Linked DNA regions of Homo sapiens: region 1 is linked to region 2. The links are contacts of gene promoters, found by promoter capture Hi-C in blood cells and fetal thymus (Javierre and others, 2016). All regions are on one chromosome and are shown on one strand. The core of a region is centred on a gene start or on the middle of the fragment in contact, and the rest is flanking DNA. Distances in the headings are between cores, read along the strand shown. Region 1 overlaps DNAJB6 (DnaJ heat shock protein family (Hsp40) member B6). Region 2 holds the start of INSIG1 (insulin induced gene 1).

The links. Contacts are between HindIII fragments. The CHiCAGO score rates a contact against its expected background, and 5 or more counts as called.
Region 1: a contact is called between a fragment that was not itself captured here and the fragment with the promoter of INSIG1 in region 2, in 1 of 17 cell types (total B cells). The highest score is 6.3, in total B cells.

Annotation. Positions count from the first base shown.
Region 1 is chr7:157,337,163-157,340,718 of GRCh38, forward strand. All of the region lies in intron 1 of DNAJB6 (DnaJ heat shock protein family (Hsp40) member B6), which reads left to right. Among named protein-coding and RNA genes, the nearest start is that of DNAJB6, 1.9 kb to the left of the region's middle. RefSeq lists enhancers at 1-296, 1,025-1,074, 3,377-3,556 and silencers at 1-114, 175-364. The HindIII fragment of the contact is 678 bases long and covers 1,019-1,696 here.
Region 2 is chr7:155,296,628-155,300,254 of GRCh38, forward strand. INSIG1 (insulin induced gene 1) reads left to right here and starts at 1,251. Exons shown (of 6, transcript NM_005542.6): 1 at 1,251-1,332; 2 at 1,632-2,070. The coding sequence starts at 1,659. INSIG1-DT (INSIG1 divergent transcript) reads right to left here and starts at 2,353. Exons shown (of 2, transcript NR_183448.1): 1 at 1,524-2,353. RefSeq lists enhancers at 247-296, 2,707-2,776 and a silencer at 757-1,586. The HindIII fragment of the contact is 6,135 bases long and covers 1-3,627 here.

The DNA.
Region 1 (3,556 bases), core at 108-2,607, 2.0 Mb after region 2:
GGTCGGGGGAGGTCGCCTAGGGCCCCGCGCGCGCCCGGCAGACGGCGGACCTCACCCGGCGCCTGGCAACAGCGCGGGGGGTGACCGGGGTCGCCGGCCGGGGAAAGGACTGGACGGGGCGGGGGCCGTGGCCGGGGTTGCGGGGCGAAGGGTGGGCGGGGTCCTCTGGGTCAGGTCTGGGGCCGGGGCCGGGGCTGGGGTCTGGGGCCGCCCGGCCGCGTCCTCCCCGCCCGGCGTCCTTGCCGGAACGCGGCCCAGCCTCCGCGGCGGCGGTTGGGGGTGGGGCCCGGCCTGGGAGCGGCCGGCTGGGGCTCGGCTGGGGCTCGGCGGGGCCGGCAGCGTGGGAGGCGTGGAGCGCCTTCTTTTTCTAAGGCTCCCGCACTCGCGTCTGAAACCAGAAACGGGAGTGGCTTGCGGAGCAGGAATGCCGCAGCCGTGCCGCCAAGTTCGGAGGGAGAAGAAGCAGGTGGGGGACCGCAAAGCCCTGTTTCTAGAACTCCGGACGGATTGTTCAGAAGTTTGTGGAAGAGCAGGCTGCCTTTCTCACTCAGAATGTTTGTCTGCTTTGCTTTGCGTTAAAGAATCTGCACCGTAGTTGATGCAACTGAAGTTTATATAAGAAGTTTACATTAACTCTTACCTAAGGAAGGTCAGTGACACACGCAGTGTAAACTGCAAATCATATATTGGCTCGAGAAAGGTTTTGGCACTAGCGAATTTTTTAAAGGATGGGTTTGCTAGTCAGACGTAAACTTCTGTGCTAACTTCTCACGTAAACGGGGCAGGAAACAGCGCAAGTAGAACGATCGTGCCACCACCGAAGGGGTGCCGCCTGCGAGCTCGGAGGCTTCAGCCTGTTTGGGAAGAGTAGGCTGAGCGGCGCTCTTTGTAGTTTTCAACGTTTTTATTGAGTTGCGAATTTTAGTAAGGATTTGTCGCTACAATTTAAGCCAAATTATTGATTTAGTAGAAAAGTTAGAGTGAAGACCGAAGAAAGGAAACAGACGTTAACCATTAAAGCTTGATTGCTGCTGCTTCGTGTTTAACCGCACTTTTCCAAATAGTGTTGCGTATCAGAACGATTCATGATTTCTGAAAGGAATTATATGCAGCCGCCTTACTCCTCCGCCAGTCCACCCGTCCCGCGTTCTCTCTGGGTTTACTCCAGACTTCCTTTTTTTTTTTTTCCTGAGACGGAGTCTGTTCTGTTGCCCAGGCCAGAGTGCAGTGGCGCGATCTCCACTCACTGCAACTTCCAGCTCCCAGGTTCAAGCGAGTCTCCTGCCTCAGCCTCCTGAGTAGCTGGGGTTACGGGTGCTCGCCACCATGTCCGACTAATTTTTGTATTTTTAGTAGAGACGGGGGTTTCACCGTGTTGGTCAGGCTGGTCTCGAACTTATGACCTAAAGTGATCGCCTGCCTCGGCCTCCCAAAGTGTTGGGATTAGAGGCGCGAGCCACCGCGCCTCGCCGACTCCAGACTTGTTTCCACTCCTGAGGGCCTTAAGCTCCCTTGGAGTTTGTGCTTTCACATTTCTTTCTGCCTTCCGTGATAAAGGGATGAATAGTTTTTATGCACGCTTCAGCGAGCTGCGGGTTTTTGTGGATTACGCAGGCTGTGAAATTTGGGAAGTAAGTTGCCTTAAGTTGGTAGATGTGGAGATTTGACAGGAAGTGGGAGAACAAAGGGGTTGGGAAGCTTTTGGAAAGTGTCCAGGCTTCATCTGTGCTGTGGAAGGTGAGAAAGTTGGGAATTCCAGAGGGCAGAGCTCTTAAAGAATTTGAGATGAGTTCAGCACTCTCTTCAAAACAGTGTTTTAAAATTTATTTTCTTCTGGATATGAAAGTGTTAGGTTTGGGAAGTAATTCTGGCTGTAGGACAGTTTTTCCGGAACACTAGGTGGGGAGTGTTGAATGTTGTGAAGACTAAAATATGCATATGGTATTACAGTGTGATACCTGTTACTGAGTGGCGTACATTAGCTTTCATTTTTAAGCAAGCCCGTAATTCCCTTCTATTAACTCTGTTTTGGACAGTGGTACCCGTCACCCTCATCAGTCTTCAACCTAGATAACCTAAATCCAGGTCTGAGGTGGGGGTGGAATGGTCTGTTTGCACCTTTTTTTTTTTTTTTTTTTTTTTTTTTTTTGAGACGGAGTCTTGCTCTGTCGCCCAGGCCGTAATTAATGCGGTGGCGCGATCTCGGCTCACTGCAAGCTCCACCTCCCGGGGTCACACCATTCTCCTGCCTCAGCCTCCCGAGTAGCTGGGACTTCAAGCTTCCGCCACCACAGCCGGCTAATTTTTTTGTATTTTTTTAGTAGAGACGGGGTTTCACCGTGTTAGCCAGGATGGTCTTGATCTCCTGACCTCGTGATCCGCCTCCTCGGCCTCCCAAAGTGCTGGGATTACAGGCATGAGCCACCGCGCCCGGCCTTTTGTGTGTGTGTGTGTGTGTGTGTGTGTGTGTGTGTGTGTGTGTGTGAGATGGAGTTTAGCTCTTGCCCCTGCTGGAGTATAATGGCACCATCTTGGCTCACTGCAACTTCGCCTCCCAGGTTCAAGCGATTCTCCTGCCTCAGCCTCCCGAGTAGCTGGGATTACAGGCATGCGCCACCACGCCCAGCTAATTTTTTCTATTTTTATTAGAGACGAGGTTTCACTATGTTGTTCAGGCTGGTCTCGAACTCCTGACCTCAGGTGATCCACCCGCCTCGGCTTCGCAAAGTGCTGGATTACAGGTGTGAGCCCGCGCGTCCGGCTGTCACTTTAAAGAGTATTATAAGAGGGCACTTCATAACTTGGGCAGGTATTTTTAGTCATCCTGAACGTGTCGCTGTGGACTGGGTGTCACCGCGGGACCGCACAGACACCTTACTGTCGTCTGCTGTAAAGGTCAGCTTCTATATTGGTTAATGCTTACAGATATCTGTTGAGGAATAAGAGAATGTAATTAGCCTTTGTATTTGTGAGTTGACGTTTTGACGGGATTTTTACTTCTTAGTATTTATTTGCATCGAGGTTACACACTGGATTAACAGCGTTTTTTGGAAACCTTTTTAAAACTTTTTCATTTCCTCAGAAATGATTCTGTTCAAAATGTGGTTTGGTTAAATTTGTGCAGGACCCCACCTGGTGGTGAGAGGCGGGTAACTGCAGGCTCATTAGCGAGTAAGAGTAGGATCAGTGGCAGGATTTAGCAAATGGTGTAGTTCAAGGATGAATAGAATTTGAGAATATCAAACTCAAAAAAATGAGGTTAATGAGAAGAAGAGCAAAGTTGGTGAAAACAAGAATATGTTAGAAACGATGATGTAGGAATGGAAAAACGACAACGCCTACCTGCAGAAAAGTCAACTAGTAAAAATGTGATTTTTTTTTTTGTATTGATATTAATGAGGTGTTTTGTCAAACAAAACCCTTTATGTTTTTGTATGGACATAAATCACTGTTGACCTGTTTCATGTTCCTGGAGATATCCTACTTGAGAAGGAATATTGATTGATGATTAGTTGACTGACTGATTTACTTGAGATGGAGTCCTTGCTCTGTGTCC
Region 2 (3,627 bases), core at 1-2,500:
ATCTACGTATCTGGTTGTGTGATCCTCAAGCACTTATGCAAGGTGGAGTGTAAACAATGGCCAAGACCCAAACTGCAATGTTCCCTGAAGTCCAACCTGCTTGGAGTCCTTGGGAACGTGTACAATGGTTAACAGGCTTGAGAGGAGTCAGCTGGGAGAGTGAGAGCGAGACTGCCCTGCAGAGGGGCCGCTGAGGATGGACCCCTGTAGGCCGTCCACACCCACCACGCGTGTCATCCTCAGGAAATGCAACCGGATGCTCGGAATTTCGCCCCTAAAGCGACTCAGGGCAGTCTCAGCTCAGGAAGACTTCTTTTTTTGACCTTCTGGCTTAAAGCCACAACCCCAGGCTGAGGATGCCACATCAACGGCGTTTCCTCGCCACGCTGCAGGCGTGACTCACGTTTCTAAGCCTGCAGGGTCCCCGGGCCAAGCGCGGCTACTGAGAGCACAGCGTCCTCCCTCAGCCCCTGCTCATCTGCACGGAGCAAAGCCGCAGCTTTCTCTGCTGTCAGCGCTTTATACGACTCGGATGTAGGCTCTGAGCGGGCACGGGCCCGCCCTCAGACGGCGACCCGAGGGGCAAACAGGATGGAGGCGCGCTCCCTTGGAGGCTGTGGTCTCGATTTTATCTGCTCCTGGGTGGTGCGGGTGGTTTGCTCTCTAGGCGTGAGCAAAGGCCACAAGGGGCCCGAAAAAATCACCCAAGGATGCAAGCCCGCCATTGCGCTGAGCAGGGGCCTCCCCGCCGCCAGAGCCCGCGCCCCTCCAGGGAGGCCCGCGCGATCGAGACCCGCCGCCTCCCGGCCAGGCGCGGGACACCAGGCGAGGGGAGCCAGGAGCCGGGAGGGGCGGCGCCGGGCCCGCAACCCCACCCTGTCCTGCCTCCGCCTCCTCCCGGCAGGACCGTCCCCTCCCAGGCCCCAGCTCCGCGGCCGCCCACTCGCAGCCGGCCAGTCCCGCTCGGGCCCGCGTGCCCCGCAGCCGCCACGCGCCCCGCAGTCCGTGCCGAGGCTCCCGCCCGAGTGCGCGCGGGCCGGCGGTGGCGTGTGCGCACGTCATATGGGCCGCCGGCCTCCCATTGGTTGCGGCCGCCTCACCAGACCGCGTGCGGACGGGCTCGCGGGCGGGGCGGGGCAAGCTCAGGCCACGCCCCTGGGCGGTGCGCGCGGGCGGTGGGTAGGCCGGGCAGGCTCACGTGATGCGGGCCCCGCGGCCCGCCATATAAACCCGCGCGCCCGCCAGGCGCTGCGGCCGTCCCGGGCCGTGACTCCTCCTTTCCCCCGCCCCGCCTCCGTTCGGAGAGCCGGCGGGCGGGCGCCTCTCGGCCAGGTACGCGGCCGGCTGGGATAGGGGTCGCGGGCGGGCTTTGGTCGCGCAGCAGCCGGTCCTCCCCGGAGGTAGGCGGGCGCGGGCCCTGTTGGGTCTTTGGGACGCGGGTCCCGCTGGGGCCGGGGATGCTGCTCGCTGTGAGCGCGGGTCCCGTCCGCCGCTGGCCCCGGGCGGGCGCACGGGGGTCTAACCTTGGGGGGCGGCGCTGCCGCCTGGCCCGGGTGCCGGGGTTCGCGTCCCGCGGGGCCTTCCTCGCTCTTTGTCTCTTCTGAGTGAACTTGATGACCCCCTTCTTCCAGGAAGCGCCTCTTGGACGCGTGTGACCGATGCCCAGATTGCACGACCACTTCTGGAGCTGCTCCTGTGCGCACAGCGCGAGGCGCCGAGGCCCCCCGCGAGCCAGCGCCGCGGGGCTGGCGGCCAAGGTTGGGGAGATGATCAACGTTTCCGTGTCCGGGCCCTCCCTGCTGGCGGCCCACGGTGCCCCGGACGCTGACCCCGCGCCCAGGGGCCGCAGTGCTGCGATGAGCGGCCCCGAGCCCGGCAGCCCCTACCCCAACACCTGGCATCATCGCCTGTTGCAGAGGAGCCTCGTGCTCTTCTCGGTTGGGGTGGTCCTAGCCCTGGTGCTCAACCTGCTGCAGATCCAGAGGAATGTCACTCTCTTCCCCGAGGAGGTGATCGCCACCATCTTTTCCTCCGCCTGGTGGGTCCCTCCCTGCTGCGGGACAGCAGCTGGTGAGTACCCCTCCTGGTTCTTCTGGAAGTAAAAAGGGTGTCTTTTCGGTTGAAAGTACTTTTCAGCCTATAAGAAACATGCATTTGAAACTGGAACTATCCACAGATTGAAAGTGTGCATCTCCAGTCTTGGGATTTAGAGAAATGAAGGAGGGGTAGAGAGGACCTGGCACCCCCGAGGGCGGGTTCGGGCCACAGCTCTCTGAAGTTTGAGGAAGCACAGTGATGGAGATGAGGCAGGGAGATAATTGGCTGTTCAAGCAGGTGCTGTGCCAAGCTGACTGAGGGCCCTTCCCTCCTGGCGTCCGGGTACAGCCCCAGCTGTCATCCCGCGCCAGCCGCCCCGGATTGGCCGCCTGGGGAACTGGTGAGCAGCGGGACTGAAAGGCCATTGGTCGCGGCAGCAAACATGCTACCCTGCTGGATAACTGAAAACAAACCCGTCACATGGGTTCAGGAGGCGGTTGCCAGGGGAGCAACTTCTCAGCACTTCCTTTTGCCGGGTCGCTGAGTAAACTGTGGTCTGAAGCCAAACCGCCTACACCCTGAACTGTTAGAGCTCTGTAGATTACGTTCTTAAGGAAAAGAGTAACCCCCTTACGGCGTTTAGATTTTCGTACACCCAAGCAGTAGCATAGATGCTGTACAACGTAACACTGAGTCAGTCTGAACTGTGGACACGGGGACTGCTGGGTGTGTGTACTAGACTTTCTTGGCTATCATTGAACCGCTTTTATAGAAATGTTGAGTTGATCTTGGCTCAGCAGATCACTTACTGCTCCTGTAGTCACACAGCATTTGTTTATTTAACGAGCTTGTCGGGTGCTTTCTGCAACCTCAACTCTATAAGCTGTTGAAATGTTAATCCAAAAGTGAGCACCACAAGCCCCTATCCTTAAGCAGCTTAGAGTCTGGTGGGGAAAACAAACCAGTATGTCAGTGACTCCAGTGCAGTGCAGGGAGCATCCTGTTTGCTTTGTGGCTGACGTTTGTCAGCTGACTGCTGACCATAGGCTTCAGATGCTTTGCTGTGTTCATTCCTTACAGCAATACCATGTGTAGCTTCATTTATAGATGTGGCAACTGAATCACAGGTGAAGTCACATCCAAGGGTGCGCAGGTAGAAAGGGGCCAAGCCATCGTTGGTAACTGCTCCTGCTGCCTTGGTAGGTGTGTCTCCTGCACTGTGGAAACACATTGCCTCAGTTGACTCACTGAAAACAGCAAGCAGCAGAGAGGTTTGTAGCAGATTAACAGAGGGCTCCGTGTTGAAGAACTAGGACAGGTGTCTGTAATTATTAAGTAGTGGGTAGAATGTTTTCATATTTGTTCTCGGAGGGACGGGATCCTCTTTCGTTTTTCGAAACACTTTATGTGGCTGTACTAATTGAACATTTTTTGAGAACTATATCTAGATTTAAAATTCCATGTTTCATATACATTTGGCAGAATAGTTTCTTTCCTTTAACCAAAAACTTGATCTTAGAAATGAAATAGTTTAGCCTTCAGTATTTGTAATTGGATCCTCAAGGGTTTCTAGGAATATCTGGACAATTT